Linked DNA regions of Homo sapiens: region 2 is linked to region 1. Evidence: promoter capture Hi-C in human tissues and cell types (Jung and others, 2019). All regions are on one chromosome and are shown on one strand. The core of a region is centred on a gene start or on the middle of the fragment in contact, and the rest is flanking DNA. Distances in the headings are between cores, read along the strand shown. Region 1 holds the start of TNPO3 (transportin 3). Region 2 has its middle 5.8 kb from the start of HILPDA.

Region 1 (7,372 bases), core at 2,027-4,526:
GTTTTCACCATGTTGGCCAGGCTGGTCTCAAACCCCTGACCTCAAGCGATCCGCCCGCCTCAGCCTCCCAAAGTGTTGGGATTACAGGCGTGAGCCACTGCACGCCCAGCCTGGGTGGTGGCTTTTTAGTAAAGACAAGATCCAGGGTGTGATTGTGTGACCAGGTGGCTAAAGAGAATGAAGAGGTAAAGGAATCAGAAGGCCAAAGTGTTAGCTGAACTGTCAATCCAGATGCTGAAGTTGCCTAAACGTGATGTGTTACTGCTGGATATTTTCCAGATCCACTTTTCCACCCTCCTCTATCATGTTTTCTGCTCCAATAGGCTGACCTGTATAGACTTTACCAACAGGTCACTGTGCCCCTGGCTTCCGGTTGGGTTTGGCCAATGGGGAATCCCAGCAAGAAATTAAGAGAACAGGGTCAGGATATTCATTCCTCCAGCTTCATTCTCTCAAGGTCACCTGAAACTAGCTATGTCCCTTCGGCTGAAAGTCACCATTCCTCTCAAGGCAGCCAACTCCATACTTTTCAAGTAACTATTCCCTCTTTTATGGGATGTTAACCGTTCAGCTATAGGTTACCAAACTATTTCTTGTCACACCACTATACCTAAATCTTTATAATAGTATCTTTATAAAATAAACTCAGATTATCCTGTCAAGTGTGCCATCTGTTCCTGTCTGGACTCTGACTATTAACTGTGATGGTGAAGATGATGTAAGGTTGTAATAGAGTATTGGAAAGTAAGGAGAGAAAAGTGACTAATACTTAAATAACAATTGCTAACATTTTAATCTCTATGTTCCAAGAACTTTTCTAACCTCTTCGTAGAATATTAACTCATTTAATCACAACTACCTTCTGTGGTAAGCAGAGATTTTTGTCTGGTTCATTTCCAAATCCAAACACCCAGCATAGTTGCTGGCACATGGTAAGCACTCAAATATTGATTTAAAATACACACAACAAGCAGGTTTAATTAGAAAGAGATTACTTTTTTAGTATAGTGTAGCACTTCTCCTAATTACACTTTAGAAAACTATACAAAGATCAGGGAATTGTTGACTCTCCAGAGATCACAGAAACACTAAATGAGACCATATGTGAATGATTTTCTTGTGTAGCCTACAGTGAGTCGTATTCCTTTATTTTCTGAAGAGGACTTGGGTGCCAGTTTTTTAGGTTTAATATTCAAAGTCAAAGTTGCAGCGGGGGGCGATGGCTCACATCTATAATCCCAGCACTTTGGGAGGCCGAGGCGGGCGGATCACCTGAGGTCGGAGTTAGAGACCAGCCTGGCCAACATGGCGAAACCCCGTTTCTACTAAAAAATACAAAAATTAGCTGGGTGTGGTGGCGTGTGCCTGTAATCCCAGCTACTCAGGAGGCTGAGACAGGAGAATCACTTGAACCTGGGAGGAGGAGGTTGCAGTGTGCCGAGATAGCACCACTGCACTCCTCCAGCCTGGGCAACAGAGCCAGACTCTGTCTCAAGAAAAAAAAAAAAAAATTAGTCGGGTGTCAGGGCAGGCACCTGTAATCCCAGCTACTCGGGAGGCTGAGGCAGGAGAATCTCTTGAACCCGGGAGGAGGAGGTTGCAGTGAGCTGAGATGGGACCACTGCACTCCAGCCTGGGCGACAAAGCGAGACTCTGTCTCAAAAAAAAAAAAAAAAAAAAGGCAAAGTTGCTCCATACCAAGACCAGATTTTTAAAAAGTCAAAGTTGCAAATTTTTAAATATTATGCACTTGCAGCCTAGGAGCTGATTTAATAAGGCAGAGCACCTTTAAGTATCAGTTATGAGTTAAAATAAAGGGAAGGGGGCCAAAAAAAATATGGTTGTGAGTATAAAATGCAAAAATAAAGGTAAAGGTGAGTATTTTGTCAGCCTGTAAAAAAAGCCTCTTTAGTTTTCAAAGTACTTAATTTTTAAAGTACATCCTACATTAGAACCTAAGTCAGCCAGATAACCAAGAATACACATTTACACAGAAATGAAGCACAGCAAAGGTGTGAAAATTAGGGCAGGAAGCATAAAACATGAATCAAAGAATGCAGAAATACAACAGATATAAGCTACAATTAAATATCTCACCGGATGCACACACAGTTTTATATGGAATAATCAAAGCAGCAGTGATACCCATCTTATAAATAAAAATCTAAAAGCCAGAGAAATAACAAGGTTAGAGGATTAATATGAAACAAAATGAGAACTCCAAAGATTTTCTGAAAGCAGAATTACTGTTTTTTCTTCATATTATGTTGCCACTCCAAAGCAAGGGGAAAACTCGCATGAGTAAGAATCTAGAAACCTGAGAAGTTTCGAGAAGAACAGACTCAAACTGGAGTGAAAATAGGCAAAAAGAGTGAGGCATAAGGCTACGACTGGGAGCAAAATGCCAGATGCAAGTCTTGGACACGGAGGGGAGACGAATAAAGCCTTCTTAAGCGGAAGGTGGAGAAACACTGGGGTTGGATTTGGTGGGAGGAAGACAAAACGGAAAAGCACGGCCCAAGAAGCAACGGCAAAGGGAGAACTTAAACAAGATTAGATTGATGCCACAATCGAAGAGTATAAGACCTACAAATCAGATTCTGCCGGGTGGGGAAAGGGCCAGTTCGCGACCGATCAGGTGCGACTAGTTTCCCAAAAGCGGCAAAGATGTAGCTTCGCAGCCCCACCCCACGACAGCAGCTCCTCCCCAAGGAGGACCTCACGAGGTCAACTGCCGGGCTCAGGTTCTCCCCCGGAGCCTAGGTTCCACCCCGCCCCGGCCGTGCGGCACAGAACTGCCTCTCTGGGCCCCTCACCGAACGCTGCAGCTCCCCAAGCCAAAAAGAGGCGCGCTCCTTTCCGCTGGGATCTGGGTCGTGGTAAAGCGCCTGCACTGCCTGGTACACGAGCTGCAATGTCGGCTTTGCTCCTTCCATGGTGGTGGCGGTAGTGGCGGTAGCGACGGCTCTGATTCTTCTCCGGAGGATTCCTCGGTTGCTCCGCCTTCGCGCTTCCTCACTGTCTGGGCCACGGCCGCTCCCTGACTGGCGCCATCTCCTCCTCTTTGGCCGTTACCAGGGCAGAAGGCTCTCCGTGGAAGTTGCCCCCTCGGAAACAGCTATTAGGTCGTATTCAGGTTCCTGGCCTTTTTTCCGGTTTTTCCACTTGATTCTAGACTCTTGAGTCCACAGATTCTGGCGCTCCCGTCTTCAGTCGCTGACTTGCCCTCAGAAGCCTATCTTGGGAGGCCACACACCAGTGTACCTAAGGTTCGTTTACCCGGACCGGAAGCGACAGCACCGATACCTTTGGCACACTTCCGCCTGGTACACTACAAACGGCCTCCTTCCCGGCACGCCTCCTCTTGTCTCCCCGCCCCCTCCCGGAAGTAACCCTGCCGGGCCAGGAGCCGGGAAGAAGAGCCGGTGTTCTCTCTGTTCCTCGCTAGCAGCTTGGGACATTAGCGCCGAGATGTGCCCCATATCTGAGCTGCCTTCAGCTCCTTGGAAACGGATCCAGGTTTTTCCTACCCCTTCCGACTGCCCCATCCCTCTCCAGAGAATCCTTTTCTGCCCTGGTGATCAAGGCGCGTCAATTCAACTCTCCCTAGAGTGGCCACAGTACTGGAGATCCAAAGATGACTTAAGACATGGTACCTACGCTGGCTCTAGTGGAGGAGACAGACACGTAGTCAACTGAACTATTTTACAAACCTGAAATATGTGCCACATTGAGATAAATCCAAAATGCCTAGAATCTTTGTTCAGCTCCCCTTTACTTAGTTCTTAAGCCCAAAAGAGGTCTTCATTCTGCTTACAGCTCCTGGTGCTCTAACTCCAGAGCATTTTGCATACATCTTTAGGGTTATTCTCACATTGAACTGTATTTTTGTGAATGCCTTTCTGTCCGAATCCAATACCAGTGGTCTAACAATTCACAAAAGAAAACAGAAATATTGGAAACTGTACTATGGAGAAATTAGGGACAAAAGGTAACAGTATATTGATATTAACATTGCTGCTAGTCCTTTGCACTAGTAAATAACTGCTATTTGATAAATGATCACAATGTGTAAAACACTGTAGTTACAAGATCTCATTTAATCCGCCTAACAACCTTGCCAAGTATTAATAAAACCCGTTTTAGGCGCTGACACTGACCTACAGCGCCTCAGCTCCAGCGCCATGGCGCCCTCCAGGAAGTTCTTCGTGGGGAGGAACTGGAAGATGAACGGGCGGAAGAAATGTCTGGGGGAGCTCATCGGCACTCAGAACGCGGCCACTGTGCCTGCCGACACCAAGGTGATTTGTGCTCTCGCCACTGCGTATAACGAGTTGGCCCGGCAGAAGCTAGCTCCCAAGATTGCTGTGGCTCCGCAGAACTGCTACAAAGTGACTAATGGGGCCTTTACTGGGGAGATCAGCCCTGGCATGGTCAAAGACTTAGGAGTCACGTGGGTGGTGTGGTCCTGGGGCACTCAGAAGGCGTGTCTTTGGGGAGTCAGATGAGCTGATTGGGCAGAAAAGTGGCCCATGCTCTGGCAGAGAGACTCGGAGTAATCGCCTGCATTGGGGAGAAGCTAGATGAAAGGGAAGCTGGCATCACTGAGAAGGTTGTTTTTGAGCAGACAAAGGTCATCGCAGATAATGTGAAGGACTGGAGCAAGGTCATCTTGGCCTATGATCCCGTGTGGGCCACTGGTACTGGCAAGACTGCAACACCCCAACAGGCCCAGGAGGTACACAAGAAGCTCCGAGGATGGCTTAAGTCCAACATCTCTGATGCAGTGGCTCAGAGCACTGGTATCATTTATGGAGGCTCTGTGACCAAGGCAACCTGCAAGGAGCTGGCCAGCCAGCCTGACGTGGCTGCCTTCCTCATGAGTGGTGTTTCCCTCAAGCCCGAATTCGTAGACATCATCAATGCCAAACAATGAGCCCCATCCGTCTTCCCTACCCTTCCTGCCAACCCAGGAACTAAGCAGCCCAGAAGCTGAGTGACTGCCCCTCCCCTGCACATGCTTCTGATGGTGTCATCTGCACCCTATTGTGGCCTCATCCAAACTGTATCTTCCTTTACTATGTATACCTTCACCGTGTAATGGTCGGGACCAGACCAATCCCTTCTCCACTTACTGTAATTGTTGGAACTAAATGTCACCAATGTGGCTTCTCCTTGGCTGAGAGGTGAAAGGGATGGAATTTGCTCCTGGGTCCCCTAGGCCCTAGTGAGGGGAGGAGAGAGAACCCATCCTCTCCCTTCTTACACTGTGAGGCCAAGCAGAAGCCAGGGGTGCTGCCCTCTCCCACGGTGCCAACGCCTTTGTGTGTTGTGTATGTGAGCCATCCCACATGTGAGGGAAATAAACCCCTGGCACTTAAAAAACAAACAAAAAAACGCATTTTAAAGAAAGAAAAATAGTAATGTAATTTGCCCAAGGATACAGTTCTTAAAGTTAGGATTTGAATCCAGATCAGTGTTGCTCCAAAACCTGTTAAATCACACAATCCCTATCATCTTGTGCATTCGTTTGCTTCTGAATTGTTAGTCAAGGAATTTTTAACTGCCAACAACATGATGAAAACAATGTTACTGCACAGAGTTGATACAATTTTAGACAGAAAAAAGAAACTTGATATTTTGGTTACCTAATCCATTCATTCATTAAAAAAAAATTTAGTGCTGGGCTTGGTGGCTCACAACTGTGTAATCCCGGCATTTTGGGAGGCCGAGGCAAGAGGATTACCTTTGAGGCCAGGAGTTCAAGACCATCCTGGGTAATGAAATGAGACTCCATCTCTACAAAAAAAAATGCAAAAAAATTAGCAGGGCATGGTGGTGGGTGCTTCTAATCCCAGCTACTCAGGAGGCTGAGGTGGGAGTATTGCTTTAGCCCAGGAGGTGGGGGTTGCAGTGAGCAGAGATTGTGCCACTGCACTCCAGCCTGGGAAACAGTGAGACCATATCTCAAAACAAATTTTTTTGTGTGTATCAAAGGACACTATCAAGAAAGTGAAGTAACAGTCCACAACATGGAAGGGAATGTGCAAATAACATATCTGATAACTGATTAGTATCCAGAGTATATAAAGAACTCTTACAATTCAACAATGAAAAGACAACTCAGTTTTTGGGTTTGTTTTGTGTGTGTGTGTGTGTGTGTGTGTGTTTTGTTTTTTTGTTTTGAGTTGGAGTCTTGCTCTGTTGCCCAGGCTAGAGTACAATGGCACAATCTCAGCTCACTGAAACCTCCACCTCCTGGGTTCAAGCGATTCTTGTACCTCATCCTCCCACGTAGTTGGGATTACAGGTGCCCACAACCATGCCTGGCTGATTTTTGTATTTTTAGTAGAAACAGGGCTTCACCACGTTGGCCAGGTTGGTCTCGAACTCCTGACCTCAAGTGATCCACCCGCCTCAGCCTTTCAAAGTGCTGGAATTACAGGCGTAAGCCACCATGTCTGGCCTCAGATAATTCAGTTTTTTAAATGGGCAGTGAATTTGAATAGACATTTCTTCCAAGAAGATATACAAATGCACATGAAAAGATGCTCATCATTAGCCCTCAGGGAAATACAAATCAAAACTGCAATGAGATACAACTTCACACCCACTAGAAAAACTAAAATTTAAAAAATGATAAATGCTGGTGAGAATGTGGACAAATCAGAACTCTCATGCACTATTCATGGGATTGTATCATGGTGCGGCCATGTTGAAAAAGTTTGGCAGCTCTTCAAAAAAATGTTAAACATAGAATTATCATATGAACCAGCAGTTCTACACTTAGGTATATACTCAAGAGAAATGATAACGTGTGTGCATACAAGCACTTGCACGTGCATATTCATAGCAGCATTATTCATAATAGACGGCAGAAACAGCCCCAATATCCGTCATTTGATGCATGGATAAACAAAGTGTGCTATATCCATACAATGAAAGGTTATTTGACCCTTAAAAGGAATGAAGTACAGATAGATGCTACAATATAGATAAACTTGAAAAATTATGCTAAGTGAAAGTGGCCAGACACAAAAGGCACATTAATTACGCGATTCTATTTACATAAAATGTTCAGAGTAGGCAAAATTCTAAATATAGACAGTAGATTGGTCATTTCCAGGGTTGGTTTTTTGTTTTGGGTTTTGTTTTTTTTTGTATTGATGGAAATAAATGCTCTGGAATTATTGACGATGTTCAGAAAAACCTCATGAATATATTAAAAACCACTGGCATATGTTTTTTATATGTTTTAAAAGGATGAGTTTTATGGCAATGTGAACTATATTTCAATAAAACTTATTTTTAAAAGTTCTATGGTTAGGAATTATTAAAACACCACATGGATATTTAGCTAACAGTTGGAGAA
Region 2 (7,372 bases), core at 1,529-4,028, 610 kb before region 1:
AGATAAGAGACAGCAGGAACAGCCCCCTGCCCTGCTCTAGCCGAGTTGGAACAGAGCCACGGAGTGAGTTGGCTGGCAGCAGAAATGTCTGGGCATCTGTGTCTGGGGGAGAGGTGCCAGCTGTCTAGGCAGAGAGAAAATGTGCCCATGTGCACACACACGTGTGTAAAGGTAGGGCATGTGTGTGTGAACACATGCAGCAGAGGGAAGAGCAGCTGTTGTCATTGTGAATGACAACAGCACAGACACCAGGAGAACCCCGTTGTCTCCCAACCCAGAGACTCAGACTCTGCCTCCCTGCCTGGAGCAAGACACCCATCTCCTCTGGTAGCACCTCGACCATCTACCAGGCAGCAACGGAGCTCATTTGAGGCCTGGCCCTTTTGCAGCTAACCTGGGCTCTCCCATGCTCATAGAGCCCACTGTGACCACCAAGAGAAGGTGACAGCAAGGAGGAAGGCTCCCGCTATGTTCTAACATTCAATGATTTTATGGTTCCATGAAGGAAAGAGAGAGCAACATGTCAATACACAGATTTATCCTAAACTGCTGGATGGAAATAACTTGGAAAACAGCATAGAATGAGTAAACTCTTAAATACATGTTTCCAGTGAGTTTCCTTTTTGATTCTAATTACCTCCATAAGACAGAGGACTGTCCCCAAGCCTTTACTGAGATGAGAAAGTAGGGACTTCTTCACCCCAAATCTTTCCTAAGGTTTTATTTACAGACTTTTTCAAAACATTCACAATACTTTTTCTTCTTCTTATAATACATGCTCATAGTAGAAAAATTGAAACTCAAGAAACTATAAAACCTCCATAATCCACCCCATCCTCACTTTACTTCCACAGGCCTCAGATATGCCTGCTATGGGATGCCCCATCATGTTAAAATGCACCCACATCTCACATCTGAAGTTACTGTGCTGAGTTGAAACTGTCTAGTTGGCCAGGCACAGTGGCTCATGCCTGTAATCCTTGCACTTTGGGAGGCTGAGGTGGGTGGATCACTTGAGGCCAGGAGTTCAAAACCAGCCTGGCCAACATGGAGAAACCCCATCTCTACTAAAAATACAAAAAAATTAGCCAGACGTGGTGACAGGCAGCTGTAATCCCAGCTACTCAAGAGGCTGAGGCAGGAGAATTGCTTAAACCTGGGAGGCAGAGGTTGCAGTGAGCCGAGATCATGCCACTGCCCTCCAGCCTGGGTGACAGAGCGAAACTCCATCTCAAAAAAAAAAAAGAAAAGAAAAGAAGGAAACTGTCTAGTTAACATATATTTTGCAGACCTTTGATTAAATGTTTATGAATTTTAGTTCTGTCATTTAAAATTTTTTGAAGCCAATATATTTTGTTTTCTATATCTCAAATATGTTTGAGAGTCCCTGAAAAGTCTATAGGCCCCAGGAACTGTGCTTATTGTGACTAATGAATAAGAGGACCCTGCCCAGTGAAAAATGTTACTATTTAAGAGTAGATACACTGTCAGTCTCTCTCTCTCTCTCTCTCTCTCTCTCTATGCATTTATCATGGATAACTTAGAGAGCCCATATAGTTTTGAATACTGTTTTTCTCCTATTCTACACTGTTCATCCAGTATTTCGCAGACAGAGCTTGAGAGCAGAGGCCTGCTGTGTCAGTGGGAGTCCCCCACCCACACCACAGCTTCTCAGTGCAGGTTCTAGGACCACACACCTCTTAGGTAGAAAGGCTCTGAGAGAGACAGCTTGTCTCCCTCAGACCTGAGCTTCACAGATGAGGAAACTGAGGCCTGAAGAAGTGGCTGGCCCCAGGTGAGTGGTTAGTTAGTACCACAACCAGACTCAGAATTTAGGTTGCTGGCTCAGGTGCGAGGTGAAGAAGCCACTGCTTGCCTTGGGTGCCCTCTGCCCAACTTCCAGGGCCAACTCTCTGTGGGCACCTTCCTCTGGTGCCATACTGCCAGGCCCTCCCACTCCACTCCCGCCTCCCACTAGCTGCTCCAAGCTTTTGACCCAATTTCCCCATCCAAACTCCTGTGTTTGTTTTCCCTTCATTGTCACAATGTTGCTCAAGCTGTAAATTTACAAAATGTTAGTAAATTTTAATTTTTTTCTCTGATCGTAAAAGTAACAGATGCACATGGGAGAAAATAGGAGGAAAAAAGGAGTTCATTATATCACCCAGAGATGATCACTGTAAAAATGCTGTGCAACAAACATCAATAAATAGAATTAGAAATTGATCAGCTGCTCTGTCATAATTATTATTAATTTTTTTAGAGACGGGGTCTTGTCATGTTGCCTAGGCTGGTCTTGAACTCTTGGGCTCAAGCAATGCTCCCACATCAGCTTCCCAAAGTGCTGATATTACAGGCGTCAGCCACCATGCTTGGTGTGTTTCCTTTCAGTTATAAAATATCTCAGATACATAAACATGATTCGTTCATTCGACAAATATTTGTTGAGCATATACCACATGGAAGGCACTATTCTGGGTTTAGGAACATAATAATTGACACAATAGTCCGAGTCCTTGTTCTCAAGGAGCTACATTCTAGCGGAGGAAGATAGATAATCAACAAATAAATATAAAACAGGTTTGTTGGTGTTGAGTACTATGAAGAAAAAATAAAACAGGGTAAAGGAGAAGAGTAGGTGGTGAGTGTTACTGTACATGAAATGATTGGGAAAGCCTCCCTGAGAAATGACATTTGATCAGGGTCCAGAAGGAAGTGACACAGTGAGCCAAATATTGAGTGAACATGTTTCAGACACTGAGGACATAATAGTGAATAAAAGTGACATTCCACTCTGGGCCACCGGCCCTCCTCTTCATTGTAGACACCTTGTACTATTTTACCTAATGGCCTGAAGACTGAATTGTACAGGAAGAGAAGGAAGAGGAAGAGCTACCCTTAACATTTTAATTTTTTTTGGCGGGTGCGGTGGCTCATGCCTGTAATCCCAGCACTTTGGGAGGCTGAGGCAGGTGGATCACCTGAGGTCAGGAGTTCGAGACCAGCCTGGCCAACATGGTGAAACCCCATCTCTACTAAAAAAAAGTACAAAAATTAGCTAGGTGTGGTGGCTGGCACCTGTAGTTCAGCTACTCGGGAGGCTGAGGCAGGAGAATCGCTTGAACCCGGGAGGTGGAGGTTGCAATGAGCTGAGATCGCACCACTGCACTCCAGCCTGGGTGACAGAGTGAGACTGTCTCAAAAAGATAAAAATAAATAATAAATATAAATATATTTATTTATTTAATAAGGTTGGTCTTGAATTCCTGACCTCAACTGATCCACCTGCCTTGGCCTACCAAAGTTCCAGGATTATAGGCATGAGCCACCGCGCCCAACCAACTCTTAACATTTTAATATACAGACTTAAAAAGTCTAAAATTGGCTGGGTGTGGTGGCTTACACCTGTAATCCCAGCACTTTGTGAGGCTGAGGCAGGTGGATCACTTGAGGTCAGGAGTTTGAGACCAGCCTGGCCAACATAGTGAAATGTCTCTACTAAGAATACAAAAATTAGCTGGGCATGGTGGTGGGTGCCTGTAATCCCAGCTACTCGGGAGGCTGAGGCAGGAGAATCACTTGAACCTGGGAGGCGAAGGTTGCAGTGAACCGAGATTGCACCATTGCACTCCAGCCTGGGTGACAAGACCAAGACTCTGTCTCAAAAAAAAAAAAAAAGTCTAACATTAATCAATATTTACTTTCCTCCCAAATAAAAACATATTAAACTTCATCTTTGCTCACTGTTCCCATCTGAAATGTTTACCAATTTTTCAGTTTATCTTGTTATTTTTACTTTTCTAAATCAACCATTATTACTAAAAATAGTTTTGAGTAGTCATAATTTGTTTAGATACATCCATATGTTTTGTAAATATTTCCTTACCATTTTTTCTTGCATTTCCCTATTTCCTTTTGGGTTCAGTTTTCTTGTGTCTTAGGTTCATTCTTCAGTAGTTTCCACGGTAAGGGCCTACGGCAGCTAACTCTGTTTTTGTTTGTCATCTGACGATGTCTTCAACTTGCCCTCCTTTAAAGAAAATAATGACTTTATTCAGATATAGTTCACATATCAAAATCCACCGTTTTAAAGGATACAATTCAATGGTTAAGTACATTCATAGACTTGTATAACTGTCAGCACTAATTTTAGAACATTTCATCACCAGCCCACACACCAAAAAAAAAACCACCCTGTACCCACTAGCAGTCATTCCCCAGTCCCCTCTCCTCCAGCCCTTGGCAACCACTTACCTACTTTCTGTCTCTGTGGATTTGCCTTTTTTTTTTTTTTGAGACAGTCTTGCTCTGTTGCCCAGGCTGGAGTGCAGTGGTGTGATCTCGGCTCACTGCAACCTCTGCCTCCTGGGTTCAAGCGATTTTCCTGTCTCAGCCTCCCAGGTAGGTGGGACTACAGGTCAGCACCACCATGCCTGGCTAATTTTGTCTTTTTGGTAGAGACAGGGTTTCACCATGTTGGCCAGGCTGGTCTCAAACTCCTGACCTCCAGTGATCTGCCCACCTTGGTCTCTGTGCTGGGATCCTCAAAGTGCTGGGCTTACAGGTGGGAGCCACTACGCCCAGCCCTGGATTTGCCTATTCTGACATTTCATATAAATGGAATCATACGATATGTACCCTTTTGTTTCTGGTTTCTTTCACTTAGCATAATGTGTTCAAGGTGCATCCATATTGTAGCATGTATCAATACTTCATTTTTTATGGCTGAATAATATTCCATTGTATCACATTTTGTTTATCCTTTAGCCAGTTGACGGACATTTGGGTTGTTTCTACTTTTTTGGCTATTATGAATAATGCTGCTATGAACATTTGTGTATAAGCGTTTGTGTGTGAACATACATCTTCGGTTCACTTGGGTATATATTTAGGAGCTAAACTGCTGGATCATACAGTAACTCTATGTTTAACTTTTTGAGGAACTATTCTAAAGCAGCTGCACTATTTTACATTCTAACAGCAATGTATGAGGGTTCTGTTTTTTCTACATTTTCATCAACATTTGTTCTTTTCTGGGTTTTTTTGCTTGTTTGTGTTATAGCCATCCTAGTGAGTGTGAGGTGGTGTCTCATTGTATTCTATTTTTTATGTTCATTTTAACATAAATGTAGCATACTGCTCACATACTATAAACCCTTTTCATTTAACAATATATTGTGGAGATCTTGTCGATATATACAGAACTTACTCTCTTTTTTCTGGCTTTATGGTAATTCACTGTCTGAATGCACCATCTTTTATTTAACCAGTTCTCTACTGATGGGCTGTTTTTTCCAGTCTTTCATTATCACAAACAGTGCTGCAACAGTGCTACCTTTAAACACTCCATTCTCTACATGTGGAAGGATAAATCCTAAAAGTGGAATTCTGGGCTAAAGGGCATGTGTATGCTTTTATTTTTATAGACATTGCCAAATGGTAGTCAGTGGTCTTTTTTAACACCTCAATGGTCTTGAGGTGTTTAAAAAACAAGTGGGGGTCAGGGTAACAATTACTGACAAATTGATTTCCATACTGAATGTACCAGTTTATACTTACCAGAAATGTAAGTACATGTTATTTAAATGAACACTTGATGATAAGATCAAATTTGTGAAAATACTTGTGTTCTTAGTATGGTACTCTTGTGTGGGTTGACTTCAGAATCACTTCTTTTTAGGGGCTTTGGGGGAAGGGCAGCTTATAAAAAGCTTTCCTTGGTTGCAGCTCCAAGGAGGAGGTAGCACCTGAAAACGGCTTCTCTTGGCGCCCTTATCTACATTTCCTTGATGAAACAATGGGTACTCACTGAAGATGCTGGGTAAAATATTCATTCATTTATTCCTTCAGTCAACAAATATTTATCAAAAGCCTACTATTTGGTGCTAGCTGCTGGAGATGGAATGGAAACAAAATCAGACCAAACACTCCTTTCACTGACATTTTCAGGCTTTTGAAAGGACACAGACATTAATACAACTAAGGGTAAAGTAACACACTGGGAAAGAAATGCCTATCATGCCACTGGAGCCCGGAACAGGGTCCGAGGGTCAGCAAGGGTGACCAGAGGAAATATGTTTGAATTGAGATATGAAAGATGAGTAAAAGACTAGGTGAAGAAAGTCTCTTCTTCCTCTGGAAGAAAAAGCATAGTTAACAAATAAAGAAGGCTGGGTATGGTGGCTCACACCTGTAATCCCAGCACTTTGTGAGGCTGAGGCACGTGGATCACTTGAGGTCAGGAGTTTGAGACCAGTCAGGGCAGCATAGAGAGACCCCATCTCTACAAAAAAAAAAGAAAGAAAAGCAAGAAAAGAAAGGAAAGAAAGGGAAGAAAGGGAGAAAGAAAGAAAAAGAAAGAAAGAAAGAAAGAGAAAGAAAGAAAGAAAAAGAAAGAAAGAAAGAAAGGAAAGAAAAGGAAAAGAAAAGAAAAGAATTAGCTGGTGTGGTGGTGGCAAAGAAAGAAAAAAGAAAGAATTAGCTGGGTGTGGTGGTGTGTAACTGTAGTCCCAGCTACTTAGGAGGCTGAGGTGGTAGGATAGCTTGAGCCCAGAAAGTCAAGGCTGCAGTGAGCAGTGATCGTGCCACTGTACTCCAGCCTGGAAAACAAAGTGAGACCCTTTCTCAACAACAACAACAAATAAAGAAGAGAGGCAATAATACCTACCTCATAGCATCGTTAGAAAAATTAAATAATACATGTAATGCATTTAGCAAAATGTTCAGCACGTATCAGTTACTTGAAGAATGCTTATTTTGTTTCCACTCTTTCTTTCTTCTTTTTTTTTTTTTTGAGATGGAGTTTCCCTCTTGTTGCCCAGGCTGGAGTGCAATGGTCTGATCGCAGCTCAGTGCAACCTCTGCCTGCCAGGTTCAGGTGATTCTCCTGCCTCGGCCTCCCAAGTAGTTGGGATTAAAGGCATGCGCCACCATGCCTGGCTAATTTTGTATTTTTAGTAGAGAATGTTGGTCCATGTTGGTCAGGCTGGTCTCGAACTCCTGACCTCAGGTGATCTGCCCGCCTCAGCCTCTCAAAGTGCTGGGATTACAGGTGTGAGCCACCATGCCCAGCTCTTTTTTTTTTTTTTTTTTAAATAACCATAGTGAATGTTAAAATCCCAGTTCCCCAAGCAAAACATTACCACCCTACTTATGTACTTACTTCTAAACTCTACCCCACACTGCCTTGGGTTGTTAGTTATCTTATCTTATTCAGGTCTTGTTTACTCAACCAGGTGACAAGCTTATTTAGAACAAGAATCTGGCTTTATACTTTTTAGCAAAATAATAGCTACTATTTGTTGAGCATATATGACATACTCTTTATGGGCATTATTTCCAACCCTCACAACAACCCTGTTTTACAGATTAT

Evidence for each region. The method cuts DNA at HindIII sites, captures the fragments that hold promoters and counts their contacts. A contact is called where the count stands out against the background at its distance.
Region 2: a fragment that was not itself captured here is called in contact with the fragment with the promoter of TNPO3 in region 1 in 1 of the 25 tissues and cell types used here (lymphoblastoid cells).

What each region holds. Positions count from the first base shown.
Region 1 is chr7:129,051,835-129,059,206 of GRCh38, forward strand. It overlaps TNPO3 (transportin 3), which reads right to left and starts at 3,277. Exons shown (of 23, transcript NM_012470.4): 1 at 2,817-3,277. The coding sequence starts at 2,936. It also overlaps the pseudogene TPI1P2. RefSeq lists enhancers at 2,810-3,309, 4,121-4,415 and a silencer at 4,121-4,415. The HindIII fragment of the contact is 20,371 bases long and covers 1-7,372 here.
Region 2 is chr7:128,446,416-128,453,787 of GRCh38, forward strand. No RefSeq gene overlaps it. Among named protein-coding and RNA genes, the nearest start is that of HILPDA, 5.8 kb to the right of the region's middle. The HindIII fragment of the contact is 7,397 bases long and covers 1-6,477 here.